Regions from separate parts of the Homo sapiens genome. Here regions 2, 3 and 4 are each linked to region 1. The links are contacts of gene promoters, found by promoter capture Hi-C in blood cells and fetal thymus (Javierre and others, 2016). All regions are on one chromosome and are shown on one strand. Each heading gives the region's core, a stretch centred on a gene start or on the middle of the fragment in contact. The rest is flanking DNA. Distances are from core to core; before and after follow the strand shown. Region 1 holds the start of CFAP206 (cilia and flagella associated protein 206). Region 2 overlaps PNRC1 (proline rich nuclear receptor coactivator 1). Region 3 holds the start of PM20D2 (peptidase M20 domain containing 2). Region 4 holds the start of LOC105377885 (a long non-coding RNA gene).

What was found. The method cuts DNA at HindIII sites, captures the fragments that hold promoters and counts their contacts. A CHiCAGO score of 5 or more calls a contact.
Region 2: a fragment that was not itself captured here is called in contact with the fragment with the promoter of CFAP206 in region 1 in 1 of 17 cell types (non-activated CD4 T cells); the score reaches 5.3 in non-activated CD4 T cells.
Region 3: a contact is called between the fragment with the promoter of PM20D2 here and the fragment with the promoter of CFAP206 in region 1, in 3 of 17 cell types (total CD8 T cells, non-activated CD4 T cells and naive CD8 T cells). The highest score is 9.2, in total CD8 T cells.
Region 4: a fragment that was not itself captured here is called in contact with the fragment with the promoter of CFAP206 in region 1 in 1 of 17 cell types (M1 macrophages); the score reaches 5.3 in M1 macrophages.

The regions. Positions count from the first base shown.
Region 1 is chr6:87,406,261-87,410,251 of GRCh38, forward strand. It overlaps CFAP206 (cilia and flagella associated protein 206), which reads left to right and starts at 1,712. Exons shown (of 13, transcript NM_001031743.3): 1 at 1,712-1,829; 2 at 3,575-3,687. The coding sequence starts at 3,580. The HindIII fragment of the contact is 4,290 bases long and covers 970-3,991 here.
Region 2 is chr6:89,082,049-89,086,245 of GRCh38, forward strand. PNRC1 (proline rich nuclear receptor coactivator 1) reads left to right here. Exons shown (of 2, transcript NM_006813.3): 2 at 1,705-3,112. The coding sequence ends at 2,148. Among named protein-coding and RNA genes, the nearest start is that of PNRC1, 3.4 kb to the left of the region's middle. RefSeq lists enhancers at 1-376, 2,459-2,986, 2,987-3,513. The HindIII fragment of the contact is 4,237 bases long and covers 464-4,197 here.
Region 3 is chr6:89,144,630-89,148,644 of GRCh38, forward strand. PM20D2 (peptidase M20 domain containing 2) reads left to right here and starts at 1,426. Exons shown (of 7, transcript NM_001010853.3): 1 at 1,426-1,980. The coding sequence starts at 1,516. It overlaps LOC101929004 (a long non-coding RNA gene), which reads right to left and starts at 2,237. Exons shown (of 4, transcript XR_942766.4): 1 at 1,064-2,237. RefSeq lists a silencer at 1,243-2,172. The HindIII fragment of the contact is 3,355 bases long and covers 485-3,839 here.
Region 4 is chr6:88,441,384-88,445,455 of GRCh38, forward strand. It overlaps LOC105377885 (a long non-coding RNA gene), which reads right to left and starts at 1,536. Exons shown (of 6, transcript XR_007059669.1): 1 at 1,459-1,536; 2 at 701-943. The HindIII fragment of the contact is 1,010 bases long and covers 1,833-2,842 here.

The DNA of each region.
Region 1 (3,991 bases), core at 462-2,961:
TCATGTTTATGTTCACAGCAAGGCTGCTGGAGCTTCAGCCAGCATATTCTCATTTCAAGTAGAAAGAAAAGGAAAGGCAATAGACATAAAATGGAAGTGCTTTCCCTGACACCTCATCCAGTGATTACACTTACATCTCATTGGCTAGACCATGTCACAGGCCACTCTCACTGAGAAAGAGGTTGAGAGATTTTTTTTTTTAAAAGAGAACACTGTCATTCCCAACACAGGGTTAAATTAGTAACAGAAAGAGAAGAAAACATTGACATTAAGTAGGAATTAACAGTATCAAACATACTTCAGGGAGTATTTGTGCCAGGATTTGCCCATTAGTTTAAAACTATACTTAATATGATGGTATTATTCTTACCATCTTAAAAGATATTTAATATTCTAATATATAATATATGCTCATGGAAGACATTTTGGTAGCTATCTTAAAGTATAAAGAAGACAAATCAGCCATAAGCCATTACAAAGTTACAACCACTGTTAAAATTTTGCTATCTCACCGTCCTTTGGTTGCTTTACCTTGTATACTTACAGTATATTTGTATATCTAAATTGGGTTCATTCTCTACAAATAGCCAGTCTCATCTCCCTTGTATTTTTAAATTTTGTTTTATAGATCATAAGACAATATATACTCATTATGGAAAAATCTAGAAAAAACAGAAAAGTATAAAGAAATAAAAGTAATTTACCTATAATTCCATCCTTAGATCTAATTGCTTGCTGTGATTTTGAAAAACTGACCTACACTTTTTGTGCATTATATGTATGTCAATATAGTTTAAGTCATATTATATAAAAATTTCGCATTTGGCTTTTAACAAATATAAGACAAACACAAGGTTTTTGTTAACATAATTTTAAATACCTGCCTGATATTTTACTTAAATAACGTGTTTAGATTTCTAAGGCTGTGCTATTATAAATCTTGTTACTCTGAACATCTATTTTTACACAAGCTTCTTCCACATTCCGGGAACATTTTCTAGAAGGCGGAAATAAAATTGTGTTATATTATGATGTATATTCTTGAGTTTTTGTGTTGATTCATTTCCTAGTAATCAGGGAATGTCCTTAAGCAAAGCATATTCTGCATATTTGTTTGCAGTTTGAGAAAAATTACTGTTTAAAAATAAAACCTTGTTGTTTGATGCTCTCCTTCTAATGAGTATTTAATCCTTTTTCACACTTTCACGTCTGAAGGTGGGCCTAACGATATTATCGTTAAGGGATAAAACCTCATTATTTTGACTCGGACACTAATGTGTTCTTATCATGTGCTTCTTGAATGAGCAGTTTTCTCTTCGGGCATCTTGGAGCGTTCTGTTACAGACTTCCTTTGAACAACGGGACATGAAATAAAACCTCGATACTTTTTACTTTTGTTTTTTAAAACTAGATACTTTTACAAGAACTCTATTTGCCCAGGATACAGCCCTTCCGTTTTCCCAGCCTCTCCAACTGGCTCCTCCCTCTCCCCCACCCCGCTTTCAAAGCCGCCTCATCATTCCCACGCTAGCAAGTTAATATCCTTATTTACGAGAACTTGTGTTTCACAGTCTTAACCACGGAGGTTAAGATGTCTCTGCCTGAAATTCCTTTGTTTTTAAAGTTTTTCCAGCCCATCTTTTGGGGGAAAGACCCTCAAAGTGGGACCCCGCCCCACCCCCACCTGGCCCCGCCCCCTCTGGTCCGGAGCCTTCCATCTCCATGGTTACGCGGCGGTGGCTGCGAGCGCCCAACTGCTCCGACCGTCGCGGTGAGGGCCCCAGGACAGAAGCAGACAGACACGGCTCCTGCTGTCGATTCCGATCCAGGTCAGCCTACTCGGGGCTCCGCGCCCTTGACCCGGAGGCGTACCCCGCCAGGCGGCGAGCTTGGGGCGGCTGGCGGAGCTCGGGCGGCTGGAGGACCGCGTCCTGCCTCGTCGAGACTTAGCTCTCAGTCTCGATCCTTTAGGCTGCGCCGCCGCAGAGCTGGAACAGCGGTCCATTCCTGCCGGAGGCGCCACCCCAGGGCTGCAGGGCTGCCCTCTAGCCTTTGCGCGGGTGCCTGAGGCCTCCCGCTTCTGTTTCGCTCCACTGGCTACCCCAGAAGCCGGACCTCGGGAGACTTAGTAATTGGAGGGTGGGTGCAGGGAAGGTGCTGAGCCGCGTCCCTAGCGACCCGGCAGCGGCGCGCATGCGCACACAGATCCGGAGCGCGCACACAGATCCGGAGCGCGCACACAGATCCGGAGCGCGCACACAGATCCGGAGCGCGCACACAGATCCGGAGCGCGCACACAGATCCGGAGCGCGCACACAGATCCGGAGCGCGCACACAGATCCGGAGCGCGACGGACTCTCCCACTGACTGGCACTTGCGCATGCGCTGCCTGTGATCTTGGAGTACTGATTATAAGCTGTTTTAAGCGATTCCCTTAAGCCGCGCACTGTTGTAACCACTAAAAACAGGACTAATTTAGTCCTCACACCTCTGGAAAGAAGTGAAGCAAGTGCCCAAGGTCTCACAGCTGGACAGTGGTCGGGTCACCATGGAATCCAGGCAATCTGGTTTCACTGGACAAAATGCCTAGTGCTTCGTACTCATCCATTGGAAAGCTAATAATGCTGAGGAGTTGGCTTTATCTACCTGATATTGCCTTTGTTATACTCTACATGCCAACTTCCATTGTGCTTAGTTACTGATATTCAGGAAAATCAGAAAACTCGATCAAAACCTACCACTTTTTCCTTATAGTAAATGCTTTTTTTTATCGAGAGTCTGAACTCTATTTTAGATGTGCGGAAAAGATCATTTTAATGATCTGAGCAAGAATTGTTTTCCAAGATTCTAGTACAGTTCTGAAGGGTCATTTAATGAATGTGGTGGAATAAGCATTTCTCCTTTTAAAGCTGTACTCTTGGGTTTCTCATTAATTTTACCTCCCTCCCCTACAAATACTGCTTAGCCTTTTTTTTTTTTTCCTGAGACACAGTTTCGCTCTTGTTGCCCAGGCTGGAGTGCAATGGCACCGCAACCTCCGCCTCCCGGGTTCAAACGATTCTCCTGCCTCAGCCTCCCAAGTAGCTGGGATTACAGGCGTGTGCCACCACTCCCGGCTAATTTTGTATTTTTAGTAGAGACGGGGTTTCTCTGAGTTGGTCAGGCTGGTCTCGAACTCCCGACCTCAGGTGATCTGCCTGCCTTGGCCTCCCAAAGTGCTGGGATTACAGGCGTGAGCCATCGCGCCCAGCCTGCTTAGCCTTTTTTTTTTTTTTTAATTAAGAATATCATGATAGGAATATATGTTTAGTGACCATAATTTAAATAATTGAAAATGTTATTTATCAAATGTTTCAATTATTTGAAATCCCAATCGTTGTCTGTCTTCAATAAAGTCCTTCATTTTTAAAAATAATGAAAAACAGGAGAGGCCTAGATACTAATAAAAATGCTAATAAGCTAATAGATGATATTATGACTGTTTACAAATACAATATTGCAGAAATCAAAAGAGGAAAAAAATAAATTTGCATAAAACCACGGTTTTTTTAAAAAAAATTGTTGTTTTATTTAGCCAGAATGCCTCCAACTCAGGCCGAAAGTGTTATAAGGAGTATTATACGAGAAATAGGACAAGAATGTGCAGCCCATGGAGAGATTGTTTCTGAAACTCTGATTGCTTTTATGGTAAGAAGAAATATTTTTGTGATTACTGTTTTATTAAGAGGTTTTTTAAGATGTGGTGTCCATTTTCCCCTTTAAATTCTGTGAGGCTTTCATAAATGTTTTTCAGTTGAAGCATAACGAGATAATTGGACAAATTTGTGAAAACATTTTTAAAAAGTTTATAGAGCATGTGAGTTCTAGATTTATAGAGACATTTAGAAGACCTTGATGAGTTTTGGAAACATCAATAATGTTCTCCTGTGTGGGAATTTTTTGACGTGTATTTTTGTTTGCCGTTGTTAAAAATTACTCATTGCTGTGGTTT
Region 2 (4,197 bases), core at 1,332-3,831, 1.7 Mb after region 1:
CTCTGCCCGCCTCGGGCCTGACCTACTTAGTGGTTCCAAGTTAAGAGTTGGCAGGAGCCGCACAAAACTGATTTTATTACTTTTGCCACTGTGGTACTTCGTGTTAGTGTGTCCAGAGTAAGTTTTCAGAAGAGTTAGCAATTGAATTGACTTAGCCCGTCTGATTGCAGTGCTATTGCATTAGGATAAAATGGATAGAAGTTTAAATAGGATTAAGTCTACGAAATGATTTCAAAGTCTTGTCAGAATAACGTTTTATGGACTTAAGTTCAATGACTTAATCTTCGTAATAATGAAATGAAAAAGTTCCCGTTATTTAGTGAAGAATGTTGCATTGAATTAGAGATTTGCGGTTTATCTGTGCCCTTGGGAAAAAATTTGCCCACCTTGTTTCTTTAAATTATCGTCTCAATGTCTCCCTTTTAAAATTCCACGACTTTTGAAATATCCGTGATTACCTAAAAGCTTTTGTGCTTGTTTCCTGGCCTGTTTTCTAGAACAGGTACTAACTAGGGAGCTCTGGCAGTGAACCTTATTGACGTGGAAAGTTGTGGTCCTCTTTCGTGTCGTGTCTTGCTTACTACCGCGTTACAAGTGTTGGTAGTGCAGTGATCTAGTGGATTACCTTACGCTTTTCCATCCTTTCAAGACTTCCTATAAGGCCCACTTAAGTTGGGAAAGATTAAGGTGAGTGAAGCAGCGTTCTTGAAGCAGTTACTAAACCAGAAAGGAGGTACACAGCAAAGATTGTTTCTGGCACTCGTATTTGGAAGAGAGCTCATTAGTCTTCCTTACAGTTGTAGAAAGGTGGACTTGGGTTATTTCAGACTTTTTTTAGTTTGACATTTTAGAACTGGTTCACGTTGCATACTGGTAACTAGCAGTGGTGATTAACTGCATTTTTAGTGGCGAACAAGAGTGAACTTAAAAGTCAAGGGAAATTTAAGTTTTTTGTTGTTTTTTTTTTCTTGAGACAGAGTCTGCCTCTATCGCACTCCAGGCTGGAATGCAGTGGCACGATCGATCTCTGCTCACTGCATCCTCCCCTTCCCAGGCTGAAGGGATCCCGCCTCAGCCAGCCTCCCGAGGCGCGTGTTACCACGCCGGGCTGATTTTTATATTTGTAGTAGACATGGGGTTTCGCTATGTTGCCCAGGCTGGTCTCGAACTCCTTGAGCTTGAGCGATCTGCTTGCCTTGACCTCCCAAAGTGCTGGGATTACAGGCGTGAGCCACCATGCCCAATTAAAGTTTTTGTAATTTTCAGCTTTTATTTTAGATCAAGGAGGTACTTGTGCAGGTTTGCTACATGGGTATATTTCGTGATGCTGAGGTTTGGAGTATGAATGATCCCATTCCAGGTAGTGAGCATAGTACCCAGTAGGTCCCCATCTCTCTCTCAACCCCCCTTCTAGTAGTGCCTAGTGTCTGTTGTTGTTCCCCACTATATCCATGTTGTACCCAGTGTTTAGCTCCCAAATTCACTTGTAAGTGAGAACTTGCGATATTTGGTTTTCTGTTTCTGCATTAATTCGTCTAGGGTAATGGCCCCCAGCTACATACGTGTTGTCACAAAGAACATAATTTTGTTCTTTTCTATGGCTGTGGGCAAACTTAAACACAACAAAACTAGATATGTGATATGAGGTTCATAACTGATTTTTATCTAGAAACTATATTTACTTTTGTGTTCTTGTCTTTGTAGGTTTTAAAATCAAAGATGGGAAAATCGGAGAAAATTGCCCTTCCCCATGGCCAGCTTGTTCATGGTATACACTTGTATGAGCAACCAAAGATAAACAGACAGAAAAGCAAATATAACTTGCCACTAACCAAGATCACCTCTGCAAAAAGAAATGAAAACAACTTTTGGCAGGATTCTGTTTCATCTGACAGAATTCAGAAGCAGGAAAAAAAGCCTTTTAAAAATACCGAGAACATTAAAAATTCGCATTTGAAGAAATCAGCATTTCTAACTGAAGTGAGCCAAAAGGAAAATTATGCTGGGGCAAAGTTTAGTGATCCACCTTCTCCTAGTGTTCTTCCAAAGCCTCCTAGTCACTGGATGGGAAGCACTGTTGAAAATTCCAACCAAAACAGGGAGCTGATGGCAGTACACTTAAAAACGCTCCTCAAAGTTCAAACTTAGATTTCAGATTTCAGTATGTGTGTAAAACATAATTTTTCCCATATCCCTGGACTCTTGAGAAAATTGGTACAGAAATGGAAATTTGCCTTGTTGCAACATACAATTGCAAAAGATGAGTTTAAAAAATTACATACAAACAGCTTGTATTATATTTTATATTTTGTAAATACTGTATACCATGTATTATGTGTATATTGTTCATACTTGAGAGGTATATTATAGTTTTGTTATGAAAGTATGTATTTTGCCCTGCCCACATTGCAGGTGTTTTGTATATATACAATGGATAAATTTTAAGTGTGTGCTAAGGCACATGGAAGACCGATTTTATTTGCACAAGGTACTGAGATTTTTTTCAAGAAACAGCTGTCAAATCTCAAGGTGAAGATCTAAATGTGAACAGTTTACTAATGCACTACTGAAGTTTAAATCTGTGGCACAATCAATGTAAGCATGGGGTTTGTTTCTCTAAATTGATTTGTAATCTGAAATTACTGAACAACTCCTATTCCCATTTTTGCTAAACTCAATTTCTGGTTTTGGTATATATCCATTCCAGCTTAATGCCTCTAATTTTAATGCCAACAAAATTGGTTGTAATCAAATTTTAAAATAATAATAATTTGGCCCCCCCTTTTAAAATAGTCTTGACTCTTTGTGTGTGACTGTTTCTCATGTTTGAATGTGTGACTAGGAGATGATTTTGTGTGGTTGGATTTTTTTGACTTCTACTTTACTGGCTGAGTGTGAGCCGCCATGCCTGGCCATAATCTACATTTTCTTACCAGGAGCAGCATTGAGGTTTTTGAGCATAGTACTTGACTACTCTAGAGGCTGAGACGGGAGCATCTCTTGAGCCTGAGAAGTGGAGATTGCAATTGAGCTAGGATCAGGCCACTGCACTCCAGCCTGGGTAACAGACGCTGTCTCAAAAAAAAGGCCAAGAGAAAGTAAGGGAGACAGATTTTGAGTGGGAATGTTAAGCAATCAGGTCAAGTAAAGAAGATCGAATATACAAAGGAACTTCTGTTTGATGTTTTGTGTGAGTCACCATTCCTTCCTTACAAATGCAGATACACCTTCCTCACAAATGGAAGGGAAGCTCATTTAGAAGTTTAGTTTGAAGATGCCCCCAATTTTTAGTCACCAATTTTAGCTTTTGTTAGTAATGTGTTGTAAATATTAATACTAATGACTGACTACAGTGAGTTCTGACATCTCTCCCAAATCAGTTTGTGATTCTAGAAAGGGACACATTAACAGGTTTTAACAACACATTTTTGCACATGGTTATAAAAATTCCTACACAATGTAATATAAGTCCTACCGCCTCAACCACCCTTCTTTCCTTGTCCAACATTTCTCAGCTCTTGTCATTTTGAGCAGTATGTCTGCAGTTTAATGTGTGAGGGCTTATGTGTAACGTATGTTCAGGAAATAGAAGGATAAATGGCAGAGCTGAAAGTTTAGGTGGGATGGGGAGAAAAGACAAATATAACTAAAATACAAGCTATATTCCCCACTCTACAACAACAAATGCCTGAAGAGAGAAAAAGGTAAAGTCTCTTAGGGTGAAGGGACTAATTTTGGTGAGAAAATTTTCTCTTTGGGAATCTGACACCTTAGAAAGTAACAGTGAGTTGAGCTGGGCATGGTGGCTCACGCCTGTAATCCCAGCACCTACGGAGGCTGAGGCGGATGGATCACGAGGTCAGGAGTTCAAGACTATCCTGGCCAAGATGGTAAAACCTTGTCTCTACTAAAAATAGAAAAAAATTAGTCGGGCTTGGTGGCAGGCACCTGTAATCCCAGCTACTCAGGAGGCTGAGGCAGAAAATTGCTTGAACTCGGGAGGCGGAGGTTACAGTAAGTCGAGATCGCGCCACTGCATTCCAGCCTGGGTGACAGAGCAGGACTCCATCTCAAAAAAATGAAAAAAAAAATTGAGTTGAGCCTTAAAAGATAAGTATTTGACACACAAAAAAGGAAAAAAATTGTGAGGTAAAAGTTTGAGCAGATGGTGGTGTAAAAAGATGCACAACGCTGAAT
Region 3 (4,015 bases), core at 176-2,675, 1.7 Mb after region 1:
AGTTAACAAATGCTAAGCCCTTGGAACAGTGCCTAGCACAGAGTAATTGCTCTACAAATGTCACCTATTGCTTTTGCTCTCCAATCCCCCCTTCTCCCCTTTTTTTAGCCAACTAACTGAGCAGGATAATATTGGATCTCGTGGATACAGGGTAATTTTCTTCAGCAGAATACCAGAGAAAGATTTATTATCGCCAAGGGGGCCCAGGAATTTAATAACACATTTGTTGTTTTTAGAGCTGAGTTTTTGTTGGAGTGTTAACTGAGAAAGAAAGTTTTCAGACGTGAATGGAATGTGACATTTACTCTGGTATTATTAGCATATAGAGTAGTAAAAACAGTAGTTGATAGTCTTCGTGCATGTTAGCTTCCCTTAGACTTATTTTCAAAATATTCATTTGGTTTATCACATTAATATATTGTGTCCCATTTAACATAGTTGAGACAAATTAAGGAAAGATGATAGGGTATGAAGAGCTGATAGAAGCTTTTAATATGTGGAAAACCTCAGAATATAAACATCTACAGTGTTATTAATAGGCATACCGTCAACAACAGTTTTTCAGACTTTGTGGTTCACTCTGGAGAAAAACAAGAGCATGACATCTTGAATTTCTTCACTGGGTAATTAAAAAACTCAGTTATAATGTAACACCAGCTGCACATATCATGTTAGTGGAGTTCAGCATCAATTAAAATTATAAACGAAACCTGTCATATGTTCCCTTTCAAAGCTGTTCAAGACAACTGTCCAAATCAACAAAACAGTATGAATATTTACTACCATAAATCTTTTAACTCTTTGGTTTTAACTCATTTCAAATTTTTAGTTCTACTCTATTCAAATAAATTATTATATAATAGCTAATACATACCAAGAGCTTACTGCATAATCTAGCTGCTGTTCCAGACATTAGTAACCAATGAGAAAACTGTAGAGAGTAGCTGCAGCTTTTAGTAATACAATGTCAAGGAGAAGAAAGTGGGGGCAGTACCGAAACTTACGTACAGTACCGTCGTTAGTACAGCATTGACACTGACGGCCTCCTTCAGGAAATACAAACCTTGTGAGGTTTTAATTACTAATGCTACAGAGTGGCGTTTTTCCGAGGACTGTGTTCCACTTGGTCTGTCTCTGATGGCTATTAACTAATAACCGTTCTCATTCTGCTGCTGTGGGAAATAAGCAACAACGGAAAAGTAATCGATAATCTTAGAGCATAACTCAAAGGCCAGAGCAGCCAAGGAGGTGGAAGAGTCCCGAGCCCTGCCTTCTCCACAGCACCCCCAAAACCCCACGGCGGGGCAGAGCGCCTGGTAGGGTACGAGCGGCCGCCAGCGTTTCCCGCGCGGCGCCGGGGGCGGCCCCGGGACTGGGGGTGGTGCCCTGGGAGCTGTGTGGCCGCGTGCGCGCTCCGCCGGGGTCCTGGAGGCCTCTGGGCGCGTGCGCGGGCGGTCGCTACCTGCGGCCGAGCCAGGGAGCGAGAGGGCGCAGAGGGCAGCGGGCTTGGGCAGCATGAGGCCCGGAGGGGAGCGGCCCGTGGAAGGGGGCGCGTGCAATGGCCGCTCCGAGCTGGAGCTACTGAAGCTGCGCTCGGCGGAGTGCATCGACGAGGCGGCCGAGCGGCTGGGGGCCCTGAGCCGCGCGATCTGGAGCCAGCCCGAGCTGGCCTACGAGGAGCACCATGCCCACCGCGTGCTGACGCACTTCTTCGAGCGGGAGCCGCCCGCGGCCTCCTGGGCAGTGCAGCCGCACTACCAGCTGCCCACGGCCTTCCGCGCCGAGTGGGAGCCGCCGGAGGCCCGGGCACCGAGCGCCACGCCACGCCCGCTGCACCTGGGCTTCCTCTGCGAGTACGACGCGCTGCCCGGCATCGGCCACGCCTGCGGCCACAACCTCATCGCTGAGGTCGGGGCGGCGGCCGCGCTGGGCGTGAGGGGGGCCTTAGAGGGCCTCCCCAGGCCGCCTCCGCCCGTGAAGGTGAGGTGGGGCCCGGGTGCGGGACCCTATCCGACTGCCCGGGTCGGGGGCGACCCGGGAAGGGCGGGACTCTCGTGCGTCCCGCGCGCCTCGGTGCCCTCCCGCCCGGGGCAGGTGTGTGTGGGACCGCGCTAAACCTGCGGTCCTCGCCTCGGCGCAGGAGCAGAGCTGAACCCCCAGTCAAAGTCAGTTCGCGTTGCCGACCTGGCGACATCTTGCAGATTATTGTTTCCTCCTCTCTAGTTATAAACAGCTCTGCTGAGTTGTTCCCTTAGGAAAGAACTTACACCCAAGCCTGGTGTTTGTTACGGGTTATTTTTGGTAACTGAGAGAGGCAACAGCAATTTGCTGACAAGGTTGTGCCATCAATCTCAGGAGGAAATAACTTCTTGTAGGTAATCCTACGGCCCCTTTTTATTCGTCTCCAAATAAATCTTTTGTTTGTGGCAGTCCTAGAAAATGTGATTCAAGTCATTGGTATTTGGATAGGAATTTTCAGTCGCTAGAACCACCAGACCCCTAGAAGTATACAAATAAAGGGGAAGTGAATGAGCATTATACATAGATGAGTTCATCCTTAAGTCTTAATTTTTTTGTTTTATGATTTTAAGAAATACCTCGACTCTTTAAACAGGGAAATGTCGTTTATGTTTGTCGTAGGGCAAGTTTAATCCTGTTTTACTCTGCTTTTCCAGATGGTATATTCTACACTATGAGCTAAGATTCAATCGTCATTCAGTTAAGGGGAAAACAAATGTTTTATTTTCATACTCTTTAGTTCATTTCCCCCAGTGTCAGTAACCTTCCTCTTTTATCCTAACACTACATCTTTTGTGGCTTTTTCACTTTAGCTGCCTTCTTTTTTCTGTCTCTGGAGGCTCGTTTTTGCATTTGTTAGGTTTTTGTTTGGGTTGGGGGAAGCATGCTTTGCCATGTCACAAACACTGGAGAGATTTCGCTTCAACCACGTTTTTAAAGGTTCTGAGTAGTCAGCGAGAGACATATCGTATTTAATGAGTTAAGGGTCAAGAATGAAGAGCGGTGGGCAGATCAGTTGAGGTCTGGAGTTCGAGACCCGCCTGGCCAACATGGTGAAACCTCTGTCTCTACTAAAATATATTAAAAAAAAAAAAATTAGCTGGGCGTGGTGGCTCACGCCTGTAATCCCAGCTACTCGGGAGGCTGAGGCAGGAGAATCGCTTGAACCCAGGAGGCAGAGGTTGCAGTGAGCCGACATCGCGCCACTGCACTCCATCCTGGGCAACAGAGCGAGGCCTCCTCTTAAAAAAAAAAAGAGCGGCGGCTTCATGTCAGAGTTTGAGCACTGTAGAACCGCCAAAAAAAAGCTAAACTTTGAGAAATGTACACTCTTTTTTTTTTTTTTTTTTTTTTGAGACAGTCTCATTCTGTCGCCCAGGCCGAGTGCAGTGGTCCTATCTCGGCTCACTACAACCTCCGCCTCCCGGGTTCAGGCGATCCTCGTGCTTCAGCCTCCTGAGCTGGGATTACAGGTGTGTGCCACCACGCCCAGCTAATTTTTGCATTTTTTAGTAGAGACAGGATTTCGCCATGTTGGCCTGGCTGGTATCGAACTCCGGATCTCGGGTGATTCGCCCACCTCGGCCTCCCACAGTGCTAGGATTACAGGCATGAGTCACCGCTCCCGGCCCACTCTTCTAACTTCAAATGGTTGTTCTCAATTTTAGCAAGGTTAAGTTATTAATTATCTGAAAATGGAATTTAAGTTGATTTCCTTTGCAAGCCAAGACTTTTCCAGCTTGTTTCATTGTGTTCTTATACATGATCTTGAAAATATATTAGTTGTTTATTTTGATTTTTAAAATTGTTTGAAGCAGTTAAGCTTAAATATCAAAGTAAAATGTTTATTCTGTAAAGTTCTCTTTTGTTTAATTAGGTGTTTGGTGACCAATAAATCTGCCTGGTTGAACTGGTGGAATCGAATTAGTAAGTTTGTGTAATAGTTGGCTGTTTCTAACTGTGGCATTAAGACTTGTTTAATGTTCTTCATAAAGGA
Region 4 (4,072 bases), core at 1,088-3,587, 1.0 Mb after region 1:
CATGAAGAACACAGAGACTGCATAATCTGGCCCAGAGTCACAGAAAATGGACGTAATCACTTCCTGGATACTGATGTTTTCTGTGTCATACCTTTTCTACAAGGCCCTGGCAATGTAAGCTATGACAGCTGGTTGCCTGTCGTCATTGGCACTTGGTGGATGACGGCTGCATCCATTAAAAGGTGTGTGCACCATGCCAAGAGTGTTCCCAGCTCTATGTGAGCATCACAGTGTGCACCCTAAGTTCAAGCTGCGTGGCTGTTTTTCCTGCTGTGTCTGAGAATACTGCAAAAGCTGGGGATGATTCTAAAGAACAAGAAGTTCAAATGGTGCTACAGAGCCTCCTGGGAACAAAAAGAACCACAGGACACCTGGGAGTTCCCATCATTCTGCACTTGCTATAGGTTTTGGCCCCAATTTTTGCCACTATTCAGCCCTGGTACTGGCTTTTGGCCTCAACCCAAATCCTCAGACCACCTCAACCCAAATCTTCTTGGGCTCACCACATAAAGTCAGATTTTCCGAGTGAATAAAAATGAAGATGCTTTTGGATGGGACCAAGACCCAAGGGTTATAAACCCCTTTAAAAACTGAGTTTAGTATTTTTTGTTTTTTAAAAAGAGAAAGAAAAAAAGAGAATACTCATGGCTTTGGTAGCAATATAAAAAAAGGAAAAGGCAATAATAACATCAATACTCACCACTCTTTCAAATATTAGACAGGGAAGCAGGCAAGAGGTGCTACTTTTTCTATTTCTTGGTCTCTTCTTCAGATTTGGAGATAGCTTTGCTTGAAGGATAGCAAGAGACCTTTTAAAAAGATGAAAGTAGAGTCTCGTGTACTAATGAAAAAATAAGACAAAAATTCAGGATGCCAGACCTAGGGCTGCATTTGCTCTAGTCACTGGAAGAGTATGGATTTAAGACCTCTCGCAACCTGTGATCTGTAGAAGGGTGAACACAGAAAAAAAAAGAGTTATTTTTATTTTCTGCTTTTATTAAAAGTTTATTTTAAAAGTTACAATATTTGTATAATACTATTTAGAAGAAATAAAAAATACTTAGAAACATAAAGAAGTTAAACCACACATAATCTTACCACCCAGACAACAGTTATCAATATTTTGATGTACAAGATGTTTTTTAAAGAAACAGACCAATATACTATATGTTATGTTACTTGCTTTATTTTAAATTAAGGAATTTATATACAAAGGGCATCAATTTTCTACTACTGCATTAAAAAGTACCCCAAATTTTAGCAACTTAAAAAACACAAACATTTTTTAACTCACAAAGTTCATGTGGATCAGGAACCTGAGAGTGGCTCGGTTGAGTGGTTCTGGTGCTGGATCTCCCATGAAGTTGCAGTGAAGAGGTAAGCCAAGCTACAGTCATCTGAAGACCGGACTAGCCATTTCCAAGCTCCCTGCCCTGGTTTTTGGTTTTCCCTACTCACCTGTTGTTGAACTCGGTATTTTAGTTCCTCTGCACACGGTTGCCTTAGTATCTTCAGGACATGGCAGCTGGCTTCCCCAGAGCAAGTGATCCAAAAGAGGAAGAGCATGAAAGCAAGATCAAAACGGAAGCCATGGTGTCTTCCATTACCCAATGTCAGAAGTTACATACACCATTTCTGCTGTATCCTCAGGGTCACCCAGACCAACAATGAATGTGAGAGAGTTTGAAATACCAAGAGGCAGGGATTAATGGTGACCTTCTTAGAAATGTTGCCACAAATAAAATGCACAGATTTTGTGTGTACATTGATGAGTTTTGACAAATGTCATATGCAACCATCACTAATCACAAAGTATTTATGTCTGTCCAAAAAGCTTTCTCATGACCTCTTTCAGTCAATCCCTGCCCACCTCCCCAGCAGCAACCACTGTTTGTGGTTTTTCACCATATAATCATTTTCATTTGTTATTGTACTTCTTATAAATTGAATCAGACAGTATGTACTTTTTTCTGTCTTGCTTTTCTTACTCAGCAGTATCACTAAAGATTCATTCTTGTTGCTAAATGTTGTTCATTCCTTCTTATTGCTGCCTAGTATTCTACTGTATGAATATACCACAAATTGTTAATTAATTTACCTATTTACAGACTTTAGGTTGTCTTCAGAGTTTAGAGCTAATACGAATAAAGCTGTTGTTAACATCTTTGTACAAGTCTTTTTTTTCATGGGTGTATGTCTTCATTTATCTTGGGTAAAAACTAAGGAGTTTAATTGCACATCACAGGCTAGATATATATTTGATCTTATTTTTAAAATTGCCAAATGATTTTCTGAAGTGATAGTATCATTTTACACTTCCACCAGCAATTTATTAGAGTTTCAGTTACTATATGTACTCACCAACATTTAACTTCCCATTTTCAAGTTGCAGCAATCTCGTAAGTATGTAGTAATCTTTCACTGAAGTTTTAAGTTGCATTTCCCCAATGTCTAATGTTATTGAGCACCTTTTTCATGTGTTTATTGGTCATTTACATTATCTTCTTTTGTGAAATATCCACTAGTATTTGGGAAGTATCTTCTTTTGCAAAGTATCTCCTTGTTTATTTTAATTGGGTTATTTGGTTTTTCAATATTGAATTGTTGGCATTGTTTGTTTATTCTGATTACAAGTATTTTGTCAGCTATTTGGGTTGCAAACCTTTGATCCCAGTCTGTGGTGCACCTTTTCATTTCTTTAGTGGTGTGTTTTTATGAGAATAAATTTTGATAATGTCTAATTTACCAATTTTATGTTTTATGGTTAGTGCTTTTGTGACTTAGCTAAGACATTTTTGCCTCTCCCAAAATTGCAAAGATATTATCCTTGTTTTCTTTTAGAAGCTTTATAATTTTTGCTTTTATGTTTAGGTCTATGATCAATTTTGAATTACTTTTTTGGTTTATGGTGTGAGGTAGGGGCTAGGGTACATTTATTTTCTCACATGGATGTCTAGTTTTTCTAGGATTGTTTGTTGAAAGGGTTTTCTTTTCCCTTTCAAATGCTTTGTGCCTTTGTTAAAAATTAACTGACTGTATATATCTGCATCTATTTCTGGTCTCTATTTCATTCCACCAATCTATTTGCCTAAACTTATATCTAAGTCAATAACACACTATCTTGATCAACTATAGCTTTACAATACATCTTGGTGTAACCTGCTTTTGGCACAAAACAAGATGTTATGAGTATCTTCCCAGGCCAAAATTTCTGTGACATCTGCCGTTTTTATGAATGCATAGTACTCTATCATATGCATGAATTATAATTTAATGAACAAATTTCTAATTGTTGGTTTTTTAGCCTTTGTATTTTTAAATATCACTGAAAAATTCTGCAGTGAACATCTTTGGCATTGCCCTTAGTTATATTCTATGAATAAATTCTTAGAAGTGAAATTGCTAAATTAAAGTGTGTGCTGGTTGTTAAAGATTTGGTATATATTGCCAAACTGTACAAAGATTGTGTCAGCTTACCCTGCCACCAGCTGAGAATGAGAGAGCCAATGCTGTGTATTATCATTTAAAATTAAAGCCGCTGTGTGATTTTAAATGATAGATGAAACTAGTATATCATTGCTGATTCAATGTGCATTTATAATTACCCGTAAAAAAAAGAATATTTTACGTGTATTGACCACACAAATACAAATTTTCTGTCTTTTAAGTTGCCTGTTTACATCATTTGGTCATTTTCCAATTGCCTTTACTTCCTTTGTAATGGACTAAGGCCAAAGCTAATTGTAGTCTCAATGTAGAAGTTCTTTCAGGCCCAATTCAGAATAATTAAATATATAATTTTTTTTCTAGAAATAGTATAAGTGAAATAAAAATGCAAAAAATGCTATTGAATATTTCTATTAAAATAAATTTACTCACTATAATTATAATATCACATAGTTGCAATGATTAGCTCATTTTCTTTATCTTCTACATAAAACTCAGGCTCTGCTACTTTAGGGCTTTGGCACCACACTCCATCTGTCCAGATGGCTTCTAACTTCCTAATTTGTCCTTGCCTTGGCCTGAAAACTTGTCATTTCTGTACTCTTGACCTGTTCCTTCTCGATGT